7 separate regions of the Homo sapiens genome follow, and regions 1, 2, 4, 5, 6 and 7 are each linked to region 3. The links are contacts of gene promoters, found by promoter capture Hi-C in blood cells and fetal thymus (Javierre and others, 2016). All regions are on one chromosome and are shown on one strand. Each heading gives the region's core, a stretch centred on a gene start or on the middle of the fragment in contact. The rest is flanking DNA. Distances are from core to core; before and after follow the strand shown.

Region 1 (2,700 bases), core at 120-2,619, 700 kb before region 3:
CTCGTGATCCGCCTGCCTTGGCCTCCCAAAGTGCTGGGATTACAGGTGCAAGCCACCGTGCCCGGCCATGTGTGTGTTTTTAAAACTATTTTTTAAATTCCATTTCTTGTCTGGGCACGGTGGCTCACGCCTGTAATCCCAGCTTTGGGAAGCCGAGATGGGTGGATCACGAGGTCAGGAGTTCGAGACCAGCCTGACCAACATGGTGAAACCTCATCTTTAATAAAAATACAAAAATTAGCTGGGCATGGTGGCAGGCACCTGTAATCCCAGCTACTCAGGAGGCTGAGGCAGGAGAATAGCTTGAACCCGGGAGGCGGAGGTTGCAATGAGCCGTGATCGCACCATTGCACTGCAGCCTGGGTGGCAGAGCAAGACTCCGTCTTGGAAAATAAAAAAAAAATTTCTTAAAGAATTGGAGCCATCAAAGTTGGCAAGCATTAAGCATGCTAATTAGTTCAACATACTGACCAATTCTCTGAATTATTAGTTCAAAGAAGCATGTGGACAGGGATGAAATTAAATTTGGGAATTTTTCACTCTAGTTGTTTTAGGATACTCAGGTTTGCTTTGATCTGTAAATAACAGATGCTTTTCCATGCATGGTTTAGAGTACATCAAACATGTTCAAAACTTTATCTCAGATACTTAAAATCAAGTTATTTTATTTTCCTGATATACATGCATTTGCTTTATTTTTAAAAATAAACTGTCATAAAATAGTTGTAAGGCCATACATAAAATTTACTTTATTAATTGCTAAAATATATTGCTTATTTAAATAATCAGTTTTAAGAGTAAAAGCTTTGGCAACTATGAAAGCATAGGGAGTATGTGTTCATATGTGAATGTATTGTGTGTGTATGCATAGTATACTTTTAGGTATCTAAGTAGTGAAGATAAATGTCTGCTTTACTTTTATTAGCTAAATATTATATTTAACTTAATAATTATTTAATCACTAGAATGAAAATAAAACTTTGAACAGAAGCATTGTTTTTAACTTAAGTTTCATAGTTTACTACCTCTTTTGGCTCTTAACCATAATTTTAGTACTGGGAAGAATTTTTTTAACGAATGGCATAAAATGGATTGCAGATGGGATGAGAAAGGTGCAGGACCAAGAGGGTAAGAACTGAGAAGTCCTCGATTCTGTTTTCCACACTCCCTGAACAGAAGGCTTGACTGGCGTAGGCCCTGCTCCAACCTAGTGTAGGCTGCAGGAAGCCATGTGACAAGAGTCCAGATTGTTGTCCAATGGTGGAAGCCTCCCATTTATAAGTAATAATAAGAATAAGAATGTTTGGCATTGAGCGAGGTGCGGTGGCTCACGCCTGTAATCCCAGCACTTTGGGAGGCTGAGGCGGGTGGATCACCTGAGGTCAGAAGTTCAAAACCAGCCAGGCCAACATGATGAAACCCCTATCTCTATTAAAAATACAAAAAAAATAGCTGGGCATGGTTGTGGGTGCCTGTAATCCCAGCTATTCGGGAGGCTGAGGCAGGAGAATTGCTTGAATCCGGGAGGTGGAGGTTGCAGTGAGCCAAGATCGTGCCATTGCCCTCCAGCCTGGTCAACAACAGTGAAACTCCATCTCAAAAAAAAAAAAAAAAAAAAGAATGTCTGGCATTAATTCTAGAACTGAGATGCTCTTTTGCTTAGTAAAGTCATTTTTTCTTTTTGATCATTAAGCTACATGAGGTTTTGTAATGCATTCCATTTGTGGCTGTTCTTTATCAAAATATTACTATAACAGTAGCTTCCTTAGTACATCAGACATCAGGACACTGAAGGTCTAGTTGCAGTTTTGCCACTCGCTATCTTGTGCCTTTTGAAGTTGTTTAATCTCTCTGGGTATTGATTTCCTTTTTTAAAAAATAGTTGGTAAACTATGACCTGTGGGCCTAATCCAGATCACAGCCTGTTTTTGTAATAAAGCTTTATTGGCATGCAGCCACTTTCTTTCATTTATGTATTGTCTGTCTGCTTTCACACAACAGTGGCAGAGTTGAGTAGTTGTAACAGAGACTGTATGGACCATAAAGCCTAAGCTATTTATTATCTGACTCTTTACAGAAAAAGTTTTCTGAATCCTAGACTAGATCATCTTTGAGGGCTGTGCTGTGCCTTAGATTAGATTTCCTTTTTGTCAATTTCTCTTTAATTCTAAGTTCTCAAAAGATGTCTGTCTTTAAAGGATATAGCATATCATTTCCTCGTTATCAAATTTGCAAATTATGAAAAGAAGGAAAATACTGAGTAGATCATTGGTTCCCAAAGTACAGTCCCTCCACGAATAGCAGCTGCATTCCCTAGGAACTTGCTAGAAATGCAGAATCTAAGTCCCCACTTGAGATCTTCTGAATCAGAAACTTGGGGTGAGGCCCAGAATTTGTGTTATACACCCTCTGCATGATTCTGATGCATTCTGAAGTGTGAGAACCACTGGACTAGGTGATACAAAGTTCAGTTAACAGATTTTCTTCTGTTTTGAAAAAAAGAAGAGCTTAAATACCAAAACCATTTGATAGGTATATCAGGAGGAAAATGAAATGTTGGATATTATTACTAAGCTGGTGAAATTAATATTTTCTCTAGTAAAACTCCTTGTCATAAATTGTGGATAAGTTTTAATATAATGAGAAATTTCTGAGAGGTACATCTGTGTCACTTTCAGCATATTTTTAATGGACAGAAAA
Region 2 (2,700 bases), core at 158-2,657, 770 kb before region 3:
TTTCCTGTATTAGTCTGTTCTCACACTGCTGATAAAGACATACCCAAGACTGGGTAATTTATAAAGGGAAGAGGTTTAATGGACTAACAGTTCCACATGGCTGGCAGAGGGGCCTCACAATCATGGTAGAAGGCAAAGGAGGAGCAAAGTCACGTCTTACATGGCTGCAGATGAGAGCGTATGCAGGAGAACTCCCCTTTATGAGATCATCAGATCTTGTGAGACTTATTCACTATCACCAGAACAGAATGGGAAAGACCTGCCACCATGATTCAATTACCTCCCACCAGGCCCCTCCCACAACATGTGGGAATTATGGGAGCTACAATTCAAGATGAGATTTGGTTGGGGACCCAGAGCCAAACCATTTCATGTGCGTTCTTTTCTTTTTTTTTTGAGACAAGGTCTTCCTCTGTTGCCCAGGCTGGAGTGCAGTGGTGCTGTCTCTGCTCAAGTGATCCTCCCACCTCAGCCTCCTGAGTAGCTGGGACTAGAGGCATGCACCAACCACGCCTGGCTAATTTTTTAATTAAAAATTTTCTTGTTTTGTAGAGACAGGGTCTTGCTGTGTTGCCAGGGCTGGTTTTGAAGTACTGGCCTCAAGCAATCCTCCTGACTCAGCTTCAAAGTGCTGAGATTACAGGCATGAGCCACTGAGCCCAGCCCATGTTGTTCTTACAGTTTTTAGAAAATTTTTTTTGTAGAAAGAGGTGTCACAGGTATGAGCCACCACACCTGGCCCACCCTAAGAATTTTTGTCAAAACATTAAAAACGCTTTGGTTGTAATATATAGGGGAAAAATTGCAAAGCTGATGTTTATTTAGTACACTGTAATTAAAAACATTAGAAACATTAATAACTTAATTTTTTGGACAAAACCTTATCAACAGTAGTTTGAACATTTGCTTGTGTTCTCATTATGTATTATAGAAGAAGCATCTTTTTATGCCTTGGCAAGTTGTCATACTGCTTTCTCAGTTTGGATCAACTTCTAACATTTTATTTTTTGTGCTTTCAATGTTGTGAGTTCGTTTAATGCGAAGACTTGCTGACATAACTTAGTCTGGGACATTTTCATCCTTTTCATCACAACTACTTTCCTTATTTATGTTAAATTTGCTCTCACTTATTTTTTCTAGTTACTTATCTAGATTAATGACAGCAGTGTGAATATTTCCATGGCCAGCTGTTTGTTCTCTAATACCATTTATGTCTGATTTTTGTTTAACTTTGTGTTACCACTTTTCATTTTTTTTGCATTTTCATCTTTGTTCATCAGTTTTCTGTCTATTTTTATAAAATGTCGTGTGCATTTATTACTGGGAGATGAGGTAACAACTATTTGCTGTCTGTGCGTAAACTGAGTAATAGGCAGTGATTTCTGTTAATTGTATTGTGATTTGTGGACTGAACAAGTGGTGAAGTTTACACTTTATCCAGTTACTCATAGTTAATATGCTGTGGTAACTGAAATTTGACCTGGGTCATTGGGAGATTCATGTTATTTAAGTAAATCATGGTAACTGAAATTCATGTATGTAGGTACCATGCAAAGTGAGGACCGCTTGTAGTTTTTGTTTTCCTGTTTTTAGTGAGGTGATTTTTGGCTGGTGCTGTCATCTGGGGAGCTTTTTCGTGATACTTGGGTGTCTTCTCACTGGACCTGCCCTTCTGCTGAGAACCACCTTACAGGCAGTAGGATACTTGAGGGGAACAATGTGGGTTATGATGGCAGGGGTTCTTGGGTGGAGTGAAGAAAGGTAATACGAATGAAGTATTGGGTATACTATTAAAAGAGGTTTTCTGTTTTGTTGTTTTTCTTGTTTTGCCTCTTATCTTTTCTGGATAGTGACCTCCTAGTTTTCAATTTGGAGTAAAGGGCATCTTTAAAGATTATCTCCAAATTTATAAAAAATTGAGAATTATGCTTCTCTTTCTCAGGACTTGTGTGACTTGTTTATTTTTGGCATTTACGTCAGAGTGAGCAGGTCTTCCCTTTTTGCTTGCTTTTGTGTTGAGCAAGAAATTATCTAAACACAAGTATATTCCAAATTTTGCTCAGCCCGTGGAGCATGCAAAGCACTGCTTGGAGAGCACCAATCATGCAAGGACCACAACTGATAACCACCACTGTGATGGAGGCATTTTTTTGTGCATCTCTACTACCCACAGATGGGACTACCTTTCTTTTTTCATTTTTCTTTCTGTTTAAGAAAGGCATACTTGGAAAGTTTTAGTATTTGATAACTTAGCTGTAAGTGACTTGTTAATGTGGTTTTGTTACCACTTCCAAACCCTACTACTACATGTTGAAAGTTGCTCTAAATATTAAATCTTTTGTAATACAGACAAAATTTGGGTAACATTAATTAAATTCCAAATAAAGGAAAGATAAAAGTTACACCCACAGTTATCTCACCTCCCCAAATCAGGTGTCTTTTACATGCTTAACCAGATACATTTGTTGGCCTTTGCTGTGTTATTTGGGGTTGAATGCCTGAAAAATATGGTCCCCCACCTTCAGGGATTTAGAGTCTAGTAGGAGGCAGATGCTAAACGAAACTTAATTATATAATTCCAAGTGGTGGTAACACTTAACTGTTTACTGAGCACTTTAAAAGTGCTTATGCAACTTTTTCATAGCTGAGGTCATATAGGTATAATTTTATATTCTACTTTAAAAAATTAACATGTAAGTT
Region 3 (2,700 bases), core at 76-2,575:
ATTTCTCTTTCTCAATCACAATTTAAATTCCAAGATCCTTTCTTTATCAAGAAGTTCAACGGTTTGATCTTTTCAGTGCTAGAAAAGTTATGCACACGGGCTAACTATATGTCTACTAGAAATTCTTCCCATTCGCTGATACTTCCTTACATTTTAACATCTAGAAATAGCATTCCCAATGTTAGCTCATTTGCACCTTACATTTATTTTTAAAATATGAAACATCTATAATGTGCCAGGCACCCCGTTAGATGTTAGAAACACAAGATGAGTAAATAAAAATTCGTCAACAGTAAAATTTTGATTTTCTTTCCAAAAGGTTGCAGCCTATGAAATCCATGGAGTACGGATTACTATTACTTCACGTTACAGATGAAGGATCTAAGCGCTCAGGGGTTGAAAGGTCTTATGTCAGTTCTCACATATAGTGACTAAAGAGCCAGGGCTTCAGTAATCATCCCTGGCTCCGGGCTCAGGGCATTCCGGTATTTTTTCAAAGGAAATTCCGGAATACTTAGTATTGTATCCCCTCCATTTCCCAAGAGCAAAAAGTAAAGCATCTTGGATCCCCTTGTAATGTTCACGTGAGGAACAGGTGTTCTCTGGGTGTGCTAGAAAAGCAAGGCACCAGTGGGAGTTGAAGATCCTAAGCAGCCGCTGTAACCAGACCAAGTTAATCTGTGGAAACCAGAGCACCCGGCCAAGGCGATGCTATTTCAATTGGGTGTCATAGGTGACTCATCAGAGACGCCTTGCTTTTGGGCCTTGTGATATTTTTCTTCAGGGTGGGACGTCAGATTTCCTTTGCATTTTTGGACAACAGCCCTCCTGTCCATTTCCACATTTTTCTGGTTTTACAGCTCTCACGCAGAGCTTGATTTCATACCGGAAGCTAGTCACTGGCAGGAAGTTTACGGAAGAAGAAAAAGGTAAAAAAATGTGCCGGGGGCCAGGAGAGAGGCCTAAAATGGGGAAATTCGCACTTGAAGAGCTTTCCCTACCCCAGCCCCTCAGAATGACAGTTCTCCTCCGCCAGAAGACTACCTCTCCCGGCAGGCACTGCGCGCTCGACGGCCACAGGCTGGCCAGCTCCCTGCTCTCCACCTCCATCCGAATCAGCCAATAGGAATTCCCGGCTTGGGCCTCCGCCCGACCCGGACCACGCGGGAGCCGGGGCAATCAAACTACATTTCCCGACACGCATGTGCTCGCGTCGTGGCCAATCAGCGCCAGGAATTCGGAGGCTAGGGGTGGAGCCAGATGCACAGGACACCCCATTGGCCAGGGGAAGCTTAGAAGAGCCGGAACCCGGGAGCTAGAGAAGCGAAATGACATTTCCTTTTTAAATAGCTGGAGTCGGGGCCCCATCGAGAAATGGCCGCGTCGGCAGGTGGGTCGTGTGGTGGCCAGGGCGGCGTGGAGGGAGGTGAGGGGGAAGGTGGGCCGGGGCCGGCCACAGGCAGTGGGATGAGGACGTAGCGGTGCGGAGCTAGAGGGAAGGATGAAGCGGTGGAGGGGAATGAGAAGAGGGAGGATGAATGGTGCGGAGGGCGGTGGGCGGTCCGGCGGGACCGGGATGGGGAGGCTGGGTACCCGCCGGCGCTGCGCCCCAGGAGGCAGCGGGAGGCGGCTTGAGGGGGCACCGGCGGCCGCCGTTGTTCGAGCTTCCCTCGTGAGGCTCTGCCCTCGGCTCTCGGCGGAGTCCGCGCAGACGCCTCTCCTGGGCTGCGAGCGCGTTTCCTCCGCGAGCACGGGTGCCGGGCTCGCCGGGCTCCGCAGGAGCAGGCTGGCCTTTGAACTTGTTCCGCCGATCGCGCTCCGCCCTCTGTCTCCCAGATCCTTAACTCGCGGTCCCACGAGGTCGTGCGTATATCCACAGACATTTGTATATATCTTGTAGGGGGAAAAAGCCTAGCAAGCAGACACACAAACAGAAAAATCCCGCGATGCCGTAACTGGCTCGGCACTTCTTGTAGTTGTACGATTTTTCTCCTCCTAGATTTAAGTAAGTCTTCCCCAACACCGAATGGGATTCCATCTTCAGACCCAGCCAGCGATGCCATGGACCCCTTCCATGCTTGCAGTATTCTTAAGCAACTCAAAACAATGTACGATGAAGGACAGTTGACAGACATTGTAGTGGAAGTGGATCACGGGAAAACATTTTCCTGTCATAGAAACGTTCTTGCTGCAATCAGCCCTTACTTCAGGTATGATGATGGTAGGAACTTCTGTTGGTATCTGCACCAAGCTCCCTTTCCCCCTCAGTATTGTCCACTTGATGTTTATATTGAGATGCGATAATGAAATGAAACCAATGACTTTGTTTCTTGAGACTAGAAAACAAGTCCTCTCTTAACTAAGACCTTCTTTTGACTTGAGGGATTCTTCTAGATTTCGGGTGATTGCTTTTTAAGTTAGTGGGCCTGTGTGTGTGTGTTTGAGGTAAATGACCAGAAAATCTAGACTTGTGCTGGTCAGTATGGAAGCCAGTAGCCATGTGTGGCTGTTTAAACTTAAATTATAAGTTAAATAAAATAAAACATTTAGTTCCCCAGGTACACTAAATACTTTTTGAGTGCTTGCTGGTCACCTGCAGCTAGTGGCTGCCATATTGGGCAGCACAGAAATACAGCATTTTCATCATTGACAATTTTATTGGACAGTGCTGATCTAGAATTTCTTTCAAAAAGTTATCCA
Region 4 (2,700 bases), core at 120-2,619, 790 kb after region 3:
TGGGCAACACCCTTACCTTCTTTGAACCTCTGTTTTTTCATGTAAAGTGGAGATAATTATACCTACTACAGAATGTTGCTGTGAGGATTAAATGAGATAATGAATGGGTATCAATTTGTTAACCAATGTAAATTTCATAGTGGTGCAAGCAGGAAAGAGCTTTATTTTGTTTTTCCCCCCAACACGATCTTTAATTTCTTGCTCCTTAAAGCTATCTAATTGGAGCCCATGGCTGTTGGGAACCTTCAGTGATAACAATCATTTCATTTGGATAGTTGTCTTAATTTGGATTTCCCCTGAAATGATCTTGAGAGAAGAATATGGGTGCAGTTAGTCTATCTGGAAAGTGGGTGCAGGTAGTACAAGTGAAGAAAAGAGGAAAAGAGGAAAAAATAAAAACCAACAAAAGCTTTAGAGCAGGTCATTACTATGGGTAACTGGGGCTCCATCTCTCTGAAATACCACGTGGAAGATACCTTGGAACATTCTCTTTGGAAGAAGGGGATGTAGGAGTGCTGTTGGTTCCCCAAGTGGATCCTCTTGTCTGCTCTATTGCACACATCCCCCATTACCCTGAGCATTGAATGGCTCACTGCTGCCCCCTGCTCCTTCTCCTGAGAATTGTTTTTAGTTTAGCCCACTCTCACTCCAGTTGCCAAGAGCGGATGAATGACAGAGACACATAAGGCCAGCCCTTTGCCTCAATAGGAGATGATTCTGATGGGTAATTTAAGCTACAGAGCCCTTTTCTACCCATGAATCTGGCTAGATGGACCTGTGATCTCACACTAGCTTGGCTCTTTTTTCTTCCCTCTTCTGTTTTATTCCCTCCTTTTACTGGTTTCTCCTGAGGCATCTCTATCACTAAAACTCATGCATGTGAATTTCTGTCTCAATCTGTGCTTCTAGGGAACTTGACATAAGTCAGGGCAATTATTTAATTATGCTCATCTCCCACTGCTTGAGGATTTGGAGGCACTGACTAGCTGCTGCCTTTGTGGTTCACACCACAGCTTATTTCTGTTGCGGGCTCATTGCTCCCTTCATGGAGTGATATTGGGTGTGGCCCCATCAGGTTGGTCTGAGACAGGTGAAGATTCTTGGTATACAGGAGACTTGTCATGCTTGCTGTGTAGACAGTCTCCACTGTTGCCCTCTCCTCTCCCTGTTATTGGTGTTGTCTGCAGCCAGTTTACCATCTTCAGATGGTAAACTCAGAAAACCTCAGAAAGGAAGTAAATAGCAGCTTCTTGTTTTGCTTATGCTCCCATAGTTAAGGAATACATGTAAACCTCCTTCAAGAATTCTGCCACCGAGTTCTGTCTTGGGGAATGGGGATAGGTTGGGGAACACTAACATGTTTTTCTGTCCACCCGCAAGCAGGCTGCCAGGGAATGAAACCTTAATCTACCCATCTGATAATCAGCCTTCGTTCACTTCATGGAAATGCCCTAACTTGGTTTGTGCAATAGCCACTCAGCCAACAATTTCCTGATTCAACAATCTCTCTTAACTCTAGTCTTCTGCCTATATGAGCTGGATGAGATGATGGGGGTGTGGGTAAAATGACCAATTTGGCCACCTTCTTTTTTAAATATGAGGTTTTCTATAGTCTCTTGGGACTTTGGGACTTTAGTTGGTTTCCAGAAGGAACAGAAAGCATTTTAATATTATTTTATAGATGTAAATTAAAACTTAGATGCTCACCAAGTGGTAGCTCTTAGTTTAATTACAAAATTAGTCTCTGGAATGTTTGAAAAGTCATTGTTTCTTAGTGTTTTCTTTAATAAGGTGACTTAGCATATTTAATAAAAAAGACCACAGGCCTGAGAAGTAGGAGACCTGGGTCATCATGCTTTTAGCTCTGTGACATTTTTAAATAATTTCACCTTCCAACAGCCAATACGTAGGATAATAAAAGTTGTTTAACATATCCCACAGGTTGTTGTAAGTCTGAAATGAAGGAAAACACCCAAAACATATTTGAAAGCAAAAGATAATGAAATGTCAGTTAATAATTAATAAAGTAACTCAATGTTAAGGGAGCCTATCAAAAGGCAATTTCTCCTTTCCTTCAGAGACGCTCACACCGATCCAACAAGCCGCCGTGACTGAGACCTGACTCGTTTTTGGCAAACAGATGCCACTCTAAATGATGACAAAGTGATAAACCTATGTAAATATTTCATATGGAAGCAAAGTCAATATGGACAAATGTGAAAGACATGATTCCAAGACTGGAATGCCAGGCTATGCATAGACACAGCAAAAAACAATGTGGATATTGGAGTAGATCATAAGCTGAAAACAAACCCCATGCTGTTATTTAAAAGCTTACCAGAAACCCCTAAAAGGCATGGGCCAGGCATAATTTTGTCATTCTTCCCTAACCTCATCATGTCATATGCTGTCAATTGGGTGAGGCACAGTGTAGAAAAAAGTGTCCTGTGTTCTAATTCCTGCTCCTCCTGACCTTGGATTTGATGCTTCCTTCTCCTTGTTCTTTGATGGTCAAGGTGTCATGGTAATGTGTATCTCTGTTCAAAGAATAGTTATAGATGATATGAGATAGTGTATGTGAAAGTGTTTTGGAAAAGATAGTTATTCTGTAGAGGTATAAGGTAATATTAAACAAGTGATAAAAAAGATAGAATGTTCTAGAACAGAGTGAGAAAATAGCCTGGAGGAAAGGAAGCCAGA
Region 5 (2,700 bases), core at 154-2,653, 740 kb before region 3:
GGTCAGTTATTGCCACTGCATTGTAAATGGAAAGACTGAATACTACTCTCAAAGGACCAAAATACCAAAGGAGGTTAGGATTGGCCACTTCCAAGCGAGCCTGAACTCTGTCAGTGACAAACCTTTATTTCCTAAAATATTGCCTTGTTAAGATTAGGGTTCTTGAATTAAATGCAACTGTCACTTATTTGCTTTGGTTTGTGATTGTGTGCTTTTCAATATTTGAGTTGTATAGCTAATACTATTAATAGGTGCTAAGAGACACCGAATAAGAAATTTGATCCCCGTTTTTGAGGAGCATATAAGTAAGTTGGATCCATCTGTTAAATAACTAGGGAGTATTTGAGGATGTCTGTAGGGAGGTAGCAAGGTATGGACCATGGGCTGTCAAGTTACACAGATCGGGGTCAGATTTGTGACTTGTCCACTTATTTGTCTGTAGGCCATTTACTTGCCTTCACTGAAATGCTCTTTTCCTCATCTTGAAAAAATAGGATTAATGCCATCCCAGTCACAGTTCTTACAAGGATGAAATTATACAGCACTTAACAAAGTGTCCAGCCTAGCATCTGACACACAAAATATTGAATAAACATTGGGTCTAGCCCCATTTCACACAAGTTGCTGAATGCGGCACGTTTTTAGAATTTCCTAGTTTTGGGAAAGGTATCTATTCAGAAGGTGAAAAAATTGAAATTCAAAGAAGTTTAGTGATGTGCTCCAAGTTTCCCAGCTATTATTATTCCCAGCTAATAATAAAACACCACTGTAGAATAAGTAATTAGATAAATATTTCTCTGTATACTTCCAGGAGCACCTCTGTTTTCTTTTTCATGTAGTATTTAAAAAATGGCAGAAGTAGCGGTAAGTATACTACTTGTGCAGTAAGGATTCACATCACTGGTTTCTTAAAAGGTCAGGTTCCAAAATTTGCCGTTGGTTACTGTGATAGGCAAAATAATGCCCCCCCCCCCCCATAAATATGTCCTAGTCCCCAAATCTCTGAATGTGTTTCTTCACACGGGAAAGAGATTTGGCAGATAATATTAAGAATGTTGAGATGGGGGCCGGGCGCAGTGGCTCATGCCTGTAATCCCAGCACTTTGGGAGGCTAAGGCGGGCGGATCGTGAGGTCAGGAGATCAAGACCGTCCTGGCTAACACGGTGAAAGCTTGTCTCTAAAAAAAAAAGCAAAAAAAAGTTAGTCGGGCATGGTGGTGGACGCCTGTAGTCCCAGCTACTCGGGAGGCTGAGGCAGGAGAATGGGGTGAACTTGGGAGGTGGAGCTTGCAGATCGCGCCACTGCACTCCAGCCTGGGTGACAGAGTGAGACTCCATCTCAAAAAAAAAAAAAAAATGTTGAGGTGGAAAGAGTTTTCTGGATTATCCACGTGGGCCCAGTCTAATCAGTAGGGTCCTTAGGAGAGGGGAGCGGGGGTCAGAGAGCTGAAGATGGTATACTGCTGGTCCAAAGATAGAGCGAGGGGCCACAAACCAAGGAGTGCAGGGGAGCCCTAGAAAGCAGGAAGTCAACATTCCCTTGCAGCTTCCAGAAGGCATACTGCCTGACTGACATCTCTCGGTCTTAGCTCAGGAAGACCCATTTTGGAATTCATACCTTCAGAATTATAGATAATAAGCTTATGTTTTAAGCCACTAAATGTGTGGTGATTTGTCAGAGCAGCAGTAGGAAGCAAATACAGTCACCATTGCCACCTCCTCAACGTTCAGATTTTTGTATTGGTGGGAATCTATAAATCCATCCATGGGATGTTTGTCACCTCCTGTGAAATCATGGCTCATTTCTGTTATGGAAAAATACAAAAGCAAAAAAGCCATTTGAGGCTTATCTTTTGGGTTGTATAAAATTCTGTGAACAAATTGTAGACACAGGGACTAAGTGTTGATAGAGTTATTTTCTTTGAGAAGACTTCCTTGTGTAGTCTGTATTACCCGTGACAGCAGTCTTGTCAGGCGAGGGAAGACTAATACCTACAACGATTGAACTTATTTGCGTGATTGGAAAGAGTCTTATAAGGGGGAAAGGTTTGATGAACATAGGTCCCAATGCAAGTAGGTAAAAATTAAAATCTAAGGAGTGTAAGTTAGGATTTGTAAATTGGTTTTGTCAACAGCTGTAATTCCATTTATCAACAGAAGATGGCAGACTTGACACACAAATGAACTGTTGTAGAGGTTTTTGATTTTTTAAATGATGGTATAGAAAGAGATGTAAAATATTCTTAATTGGAAACCTGCTTTCTAAAGAGAATTTTGGGAATTACAAAGAGAATGTGGAAATGAAATACACGTAAGCAAATTGCATTTCAAAAATCTTCATAGTTTCCAGGGGTCTCTCCCTGACCCCCTGTCTTACTAATTTGCCACTTTGAGTTTGCTCTGGAAAGTCCAAAGCAGCTTTTGCTTTGAATACGATGAAGCTTTGAGTGGCTCTGTTCAGTGTATTGTTAAATTTCTGTTGAATTGGTTATAGAGTTGCCTGTTGAAACATGAAGCATTAGCTGAAATTAAACCTTGAACCTCTAAGTGCATTAGATGTGTGTAAGTATGACATCTTTATTGAAAAATAATTCTGGAGATGATAGTCAGAACACTTGGGTTTCACCCATGCTTCCTGAGCTAAGTAGCTCTCTGACCTTCAGCAACTTCTATGATCTCAGATTGATTTATATATAAAAT
Region 6 (2,700 bases), core at 86-2,585, 940 kb after region 3:
GCTTCCTAATTTCTTTCTCAATATTTGGGTTCTAGGCAACAGCTGTGGGGGTTATAGTGGCATTTCCCTAAATGCTAGTATGATTTCAGAAGAGACTTCCACAATATGGAGAAGTCACAATTTTCATCATTAGTTTAAACTAAGGCACCTTATCTCACTTCCTCTAAGTCACATAATTCTCATTTTATGTTAATAGAAGTTAAACCTAATTATCAAGGGGAGAGTAGATTTCTAAGTTATAGTTTCTTCTTGAAGAGTTATGAGTGTAACCTCCATTAACACTAGGCCATGTTAAAAAGGCAACTCTTTGAATGTTGGGATAAAAATACATCCCTCTAGTGGAGGGTTATATTTTATCTGTAACTGAGTAATTTGGACTCAAGTGACCTACATTGAGAAATAGGTTTAATAGTGAAAAGACTGTGGATTGATGGATCCCTGCCAGGCAGGAACTGAAAGTTCAGAGCATTAGCAGTAGCTGACAGAATATAGGACATGATGTTATTCCCAAAATTATCAGGAAGAGAAAATATAATAGAGAGGAAAAAATAGTGTGAGACGATTTCTACTCCCACCTCCCCGGATGTTCAAGCTAATGTTTCCTTAGATGAAGTTTTTGCATCAGATTTCACTTTTCAAAAAGTTCAGCCTTTTACAGACTCTCTCCCAGTGAGAAATAAACCGAAAGCTTTTGTTTATTTTTGTAGTGATCACTGTGTCCTCACTATATAATTCTCTGAAGCCCACTTGTTGGTATTCTAAGAAAATTTGCTGCCTCATATGAGATAAAACTAGCATACATGGTAATCTTCCAATATAAAGTTAAGAATGTGTCCTAGTCATCTTGCAAGCTAAGTGTCTCTAATAGCATTGCTTCTCCATGGAAACACTACTTTTGGGAGTAGGCTATCTTGGTTCTCTTCCTCTCTCCCTCCCTCCTCCTCCCCTCAACCTGCCTTTTTCCCCCTCTCCTTCCTCCTTTTCTTCCTTTTCTTCTGCCTCCCCCCCTTCTTCCTCCCACGTTAGTTCCCGTAACATTGCTGAAAAAAAATCTGTCCCAGATTTTAAGCACTTTGAAATTCTTATGTTAGGAAATGTATCCTGAATTTAATCTGATTATTAAAAAAGAACTGCAGATTTAATTTCTTATAATAACTTGCTACTATGTTATTGACTTTATATCTTCAGGATGTAGCTAAAGTCATCTAAAGTAGGTGGTATAGATGAAAAGAATAAAAAAACCAAAACCAAAACCAAACCAAACCCAAGCCATGTCTCTTCAATACATAATACAGACTAGAAACTGTTTCAGAAATTTAGAAACTACATCACTGATTTGTTTTTCTGTACTAGATGCTAAAAGGAATTTAGATGTGCTTGTGGTGCATCATTCTATTTTTAAAGGTGATTTCATGATGGGCAATCGTCGAGCCACAAATGTTCCTCTGAAAGATGCAGAATCCTGAGTTGGATAAACTTGGCTTCTGAGTAAGTGTGGCCTTGTTCTTTGAACACAGTACTTGCATCTGTAAGATCCCTGCCTGCATGATCTAATTATTTCTGGGCTTGGGGTCTATAAACCAGACATTCTGACACTTGGTTGCTGCTTTTCTCAGCATTTGGTTTTCTTTTAAGGTTGTAAATTGATCCCCCACGTAAGACAGTCTTAGGCAATACATGACTTCTTATTAAATAATGACTAATATCATTAAGACAATAAAATATTTCCATAAACAAATAATTAAACCCTTATAAGACCTAGGTCCAAATTGAAGTCCCATTCTCTCAGCCCTTTCAGGTTTTGGGACTGATTTTTTATTTAAATCAGTGACGACTGCAGGCTTAAGCATGTACTATAGGTCCATTAAACGTTGCTTCAAAGAGAGAGGGAAAGAAATGGCCTCTAATGATCCCCAACTTTCTGGCAATCATACCCTGTCAGTGAAAGGAATAAAAAAGTACTGAAAAGTGAATAGAAAATGTGAAGCTTTTAACAGTCTTCTATTTACTGGAGGACTGGCCGTTACCGTCACTCAACCATTAACCCCCGTATGCCTTGGCCTGGGAACATCTCATTTCAAATCTCTCTGCTTTAAAATCTATACATACCGATAATGAGTTCCAAGACAAACTGTAAAGTGCAAAGCATCAAGGAGGGGAGCAGGTAAACATACATGCAAATACACATGCATGTACAATATATATACAAAACAAATGGAGCATCTCTGGAAGCATACGTAACACACTGGCAATGATGACACTGCCTTTAAAATGGAACAGCGAAAGAAGATAAACTTAATTTTTCGGTATTTTTTTTTGTTTTTTGAGTTGGAGTCTCGCTCTGTCCCCCAGTCTGGAATGCAGTGGTGCCATCTCGGCTCACTGCAACCTATGCTTCTTGGGTTCAAGTGATTCTTCTGCCTCAGCCTCCCGAGTAGCTGGGACTACAGGCACATACCACCATGCCCAGCTAATTTTTTTGTATTTTTAGTAGAGATGGGGTTTCACCATATTGGCCAGGCTGGTCTCAAACTCCTGACCTCATGATCCGCCCACCTTGGCCTCCCAAAGTGCTGGGATTACAGGCATGAGGCACCGCACCCAACCTATATGTTCCTTTTTACCTATTTAAATTTTAAAAAGATTAAAAGTACCTACTCCTGTGTAACTATTCATAATTCTAAGCTGGTATTTAAAGTT
Region 7 (2,700 bases), core at 139-2,638, 730 kb before region 3:
AGAAATCTGAAGATGATCATTCTAAGGCTGGTGTACTGGTTAGATGAGGGCAAGGAGAATCCAGTCTCTTTCATTTTGCCTGGCTAACTTTAATGCTCTGGCTAATTGACTCATGGTCACAAAATGGCTGTTCTGCTTTCAGGCATCATAGTTCTATTCCAGAACTATGAAGAAGGGGAAGGGCATGAGGCAGTACTAACTTTATCTGTCCTTTTGTTTATCTCGAAAACAAAAACTTTCCTGGGACAGATGGTATCTCAGGGCCTTTATGAGTTGCGTGGGGATTGGGAAGTTGAGTATGTAGCTTTTCACTGTAGTAGATGAAGTCAGGCAAAGGGTGGACTGGGGGCAGTGGTACTACCGTTACTGAGTCACCCCATAGGATCTGCCGTATTCTGTCCCTTCAAACCCTTCCAGCTAAAGTTTCATCTCTTCAGAAAGAAGACCATTTCATACATCTCTAGCTTCAGCCCACATGTGGGCATCCATCGTTGTTAAGATCCATGAGTAATTGTCTGTACCACTATTTTTTTTTTTGGTCATTCTCCTCTGTAAATGGAAATGTCTGTTCGTTTTCTTTTTCTGCCACCTTTGTTCTTTTGGGCACTAGTGTAGAAACTCATCTTTAAAAATTATTTGGTGGTCTCACTGAAATTGAAGACATGAATTTACTTCTGATTTATTTACTTTTATATGTAGTTTTGATTTTAAAGTTAAAATCTGAGAATACTTCTTATATTGATATATTCATATGTAAACACCTAAAAAATGTGTGTCATTTTAGATGGAAATAAACTGTTTACATTTACCAAGTACTTAAAATGTTCCAGTCACTGTGCTAAGTTGTTTACATACATTATTTCACATAATCCTCACAGCAGCCCAAAATGCGATCCCTACTTGACAGAAACTAAAGCTTGGTAAGTTTGTGGTTGGCCCAGGGTCTCATACCAGTAAGGGAGAGATCAGAGGACTCCAGAATCCATGAACTTAACCTTTATGGTGAGCTGTGTATTTTACATTTTATAAACAGATAAATTTTTTCTGGGGAGGAAAATATGTATTTAAAATGAGTAATCCATATTTATATCTGTAGTCTTTAAGCCTTTAGATAGGCGTTAGTGCCAGGAGTTTGGGGAAACTGGAAGTCTACATGATATTAAAAATAAATTAATTAGAGGAAATAAGCAAGTGTAAGGAATCTGTGTTGATGGAAGTGTTCATGAAGAACTGTGGCTTGTAAGTGCATATTATCACGTTTGCGTGATTTTCCTTTATCTAGGTGTTAGTTTACATGCCCCTTCTCTGAGGGACCTCCTGTGATCACTCCAGCTAAAATAGACCTACCCCATCCCTGATCACTCACCTGTTACCTTTGCATGCACTGATGTTTGAAATTACCTTCATTTCTTGTTCAAAAATTAATTACTGCTGCAAACAGGGACAATTTGACTTCCTCTCTTCCTATTTGAATACCCTTTATTTGTTTCTCTTGCCTAATTGCCCTGGCCAGAACTTCCAACACTGTGTTGAATAGGAGTGGTGAGAGAGGGCATCGCTGTCTTGTGCCAGTTTTCAAAGGGAGTGCTTCCAGTTTTTGCCCATTCAGTATGATATTGGCTGTGGGTTTGTCATAGATAGCTCTTATTATTTTGAGATAAGTCCCATCAATACCTAATTTATTGAGAGTTTTTAGCATGAAGGGTTTTTGAATCTTGTCAAAGGCCTTTTCTGCATCTGTTGAGATAACCATGTGGTTTTTGTCTTTGGTTCTGTTTATATGCTGGATTACATTTATTGATTTGTGTATATTGGAGCAGCCTTGCATCCCAGGGATGAAGCCCACTTGATCATGGTGGATAAGCTTTTTGGTGTGCTGCTGGATTCGGTTTGCCAGTATTTTATTGAGGATTTTTGCGTCAATGTGCATCAAGGATATTGGTCTAAAATTCTCTTTTCTGGTTGTATCTCTGCCTGGCTTTGGTATCAGGATGATGCTGGCCTCATAAAATGAGTTAGGGAGGATTCCCTTTTTCTATTGATTGGAATAGTTTCAGAAGGAATGGTACCAGTTCCTCCTTGTACCTCTGGTAGAATTCGGCTGTGAATCCATCTGGTCCTGGACTCTTTTTGGTTGGTAAGCTATTATTGCCACAATTTCAGATCCTGTTATTGGTCGACATGATTGTATATCTAGAAAACCCCATTGTCTCAGCCCAAAGTCTCCTTAAGCTGATAAGCAACTTCAGCAAAGTCTCAGGATACAAAATCAATGTACAAAAATCACAAGCATTCTTATACACCAATAATAGACAGAGAGCCAAATCATGAGTGAACTCCCATTCACAATTGCTTCAAAGAGAATAAAATACTTAGGAATCTAGCTTACAAGGGACGTGAAGGACCTCTTCAAGGAGAACTACAAAGCACTGCTCAATGAAATAAAAGAGGATACAAACGAATGGAAGAACATTCCATGCTCATGGATAGGAAGAATCAATATCGTGAAAATGGCCATACTGCCCAAGGTAATTTTTAGATTCAATGCCATCCCCATCAAGCTACCAATGACTTTCTTCACAGAATTGGAAAAAACTACTTTAAAGTTCATATGGAACCAAAAAAGAGCCCGCATCGCCAAGTCAGTCCTAAGCCAAAAGAACAAAGCTGGAGGCATCACACTACCTGACTTCAAACTAT

The links. The method cuts DNA at HindIII sites, captures the fragments that hold promoters and counts their contacts. A CHiCAGO score of 5 or more calls a contact.
Region 1: a contact is called between a fragment that was not itself captured here and the fragment with the promoter of KBTBD8 in region 3, in 3 of 17 cell types (fetal thymus, total B cells and naive B cells). The highest score is 11.8, in fetal thymus.
Region 2: a fragment that was not itself captured here is called in contact with the fragment with the promoter of KBTBD8 in region 3 in 9 of 17 cell types (fetal thymus, total B cells, monocytes and 6 more); the score reaches 26.1 in fetal thymus.
Region 4: a contact is called between a fragment that was not itself captured here and the fragment with the promoter of KBTBD8 in region 3, in 1 of 17 cell types (total B cells). The highest score is 6.7, in total B cells.
Region 5: a contact is called between a fragment that was not itself captured here and the fragment with the promoter of KBTBD8 in region 3, in 2 of 17 cell types (fetal thymus and erythroblasts). The highest score is 7.9, in fetal thymus.
Region 6: a contact is called between a fragment that was not itself captured here and the fragment with the promoter of KBTBD8 in region 3, in 1 of 17 cell types (naive CD4 T cells). The highest score is 6.2, in naive CD4 T cells.
Region 7: a contact is called between a fragment that was not itself captured here and the fragment with the promoter of KBTBD8 in region 3, in 2 of 17 cell types (fetal thymus and total B cells). The highest score is 5.3, in fetal thymus.

Annotation. Positions count from the first base shown.
Region 1 is chr3:66,295,731-66,298,430 of GRCh38, forward strand. All of the region lies in intron 5 of SLC25A26 (solute carrier family 25 member 26), which reads left to right. Among named protein-coding and RNA genes, the nearest start is that of SLC25A26, 76 kb to the left of the region's middle. The HindIII fragment of the contact is 1,135 bases long and covers 803-1,937 here.
Region 2 is chr3:66,226,096-66,228,795 of GRCh38, forward strand. The region is part of intron 1 of SLC25A26 (solute carrier family 25 member 26); the gene reads left to right. Among named protein-coding and RNA genes, the nearest start is that of SLC25A26, 6.4 kb to the left of the region's middle. The HindIII fragment of the contact is 7,505 bases long and covers 1-2,700 here.
Region 3 is chr3:66,996,982-66,999,681 of GRCh38, forward strand. It overlaps KBTBD8 (kelch repeat and BTB domain containing 8), which reads left to right and starts at 1,326. Exons shown (of 4, transcript NM_032505.3): 1 at 1,326-1,390; 2 at 2,000-2,210. The coding sequence starts at 1,375. RefSeq lists an enhancer at 984-1,083 and a silencer at 1,424-1,743. The HindIII fragment of the contact is 2,180 bases long and covers 1,290-2,700 here.
Region 4 is chr3:67,789,647-67,792,346 of GRCh38, forward strand. The region is part of intron 3 of SUCLG2-DT (SUCLG2 divergent transcript); the gene reads left to right. Among named protein-coding and RNA genes, the nearest start is that of SUCLG2-DT, 140 kb to the left of the region's middle. The HindIII fragment of the contact is 1,924 bases long and covers 408-2,331 here.
Region 5 is chr3:66,252,061-66,254,760 of GRCh38, forward strand. All of the region lies in intron 3 of SLC25A26 (solute carrier family 25 member 26), which reads left to right. Among named protein-coding and RNA genes, the nearest start is that of SLC25A26, 32 kb to the left of the region's middle. The HindIII fragment of the contact is 469 bases long and covers 1,170-1,638 here.
Region 6 is chr3:67,940,373-67,943,072 of GRCh38, forward strand. All of the region lies in intron 6 of SUCLG2-DT (SUCLG2 divergent transcript), which reads left to right. Among named protein-coding and RNA genes, the nearest start is that of TAFA1, 63 kb to the right of the region's middle. The HindIII fragment of the contact is 1,299 bases long and covers 687-1,985 here.
Region 7 is chr3:66,271,301-66,274,000 of GRCh38, forward strand. The region is part of intron 5 of SLC25A26 (solute carrier family 25 member 26); the gene reads left to right. Among named protein-coding and RNA genes, the nearest start is that of SLC25A26, 52 kb to the left of the region's middle. The HindIII fragment of the contact is 948 bases long and covers 915-1,862 here.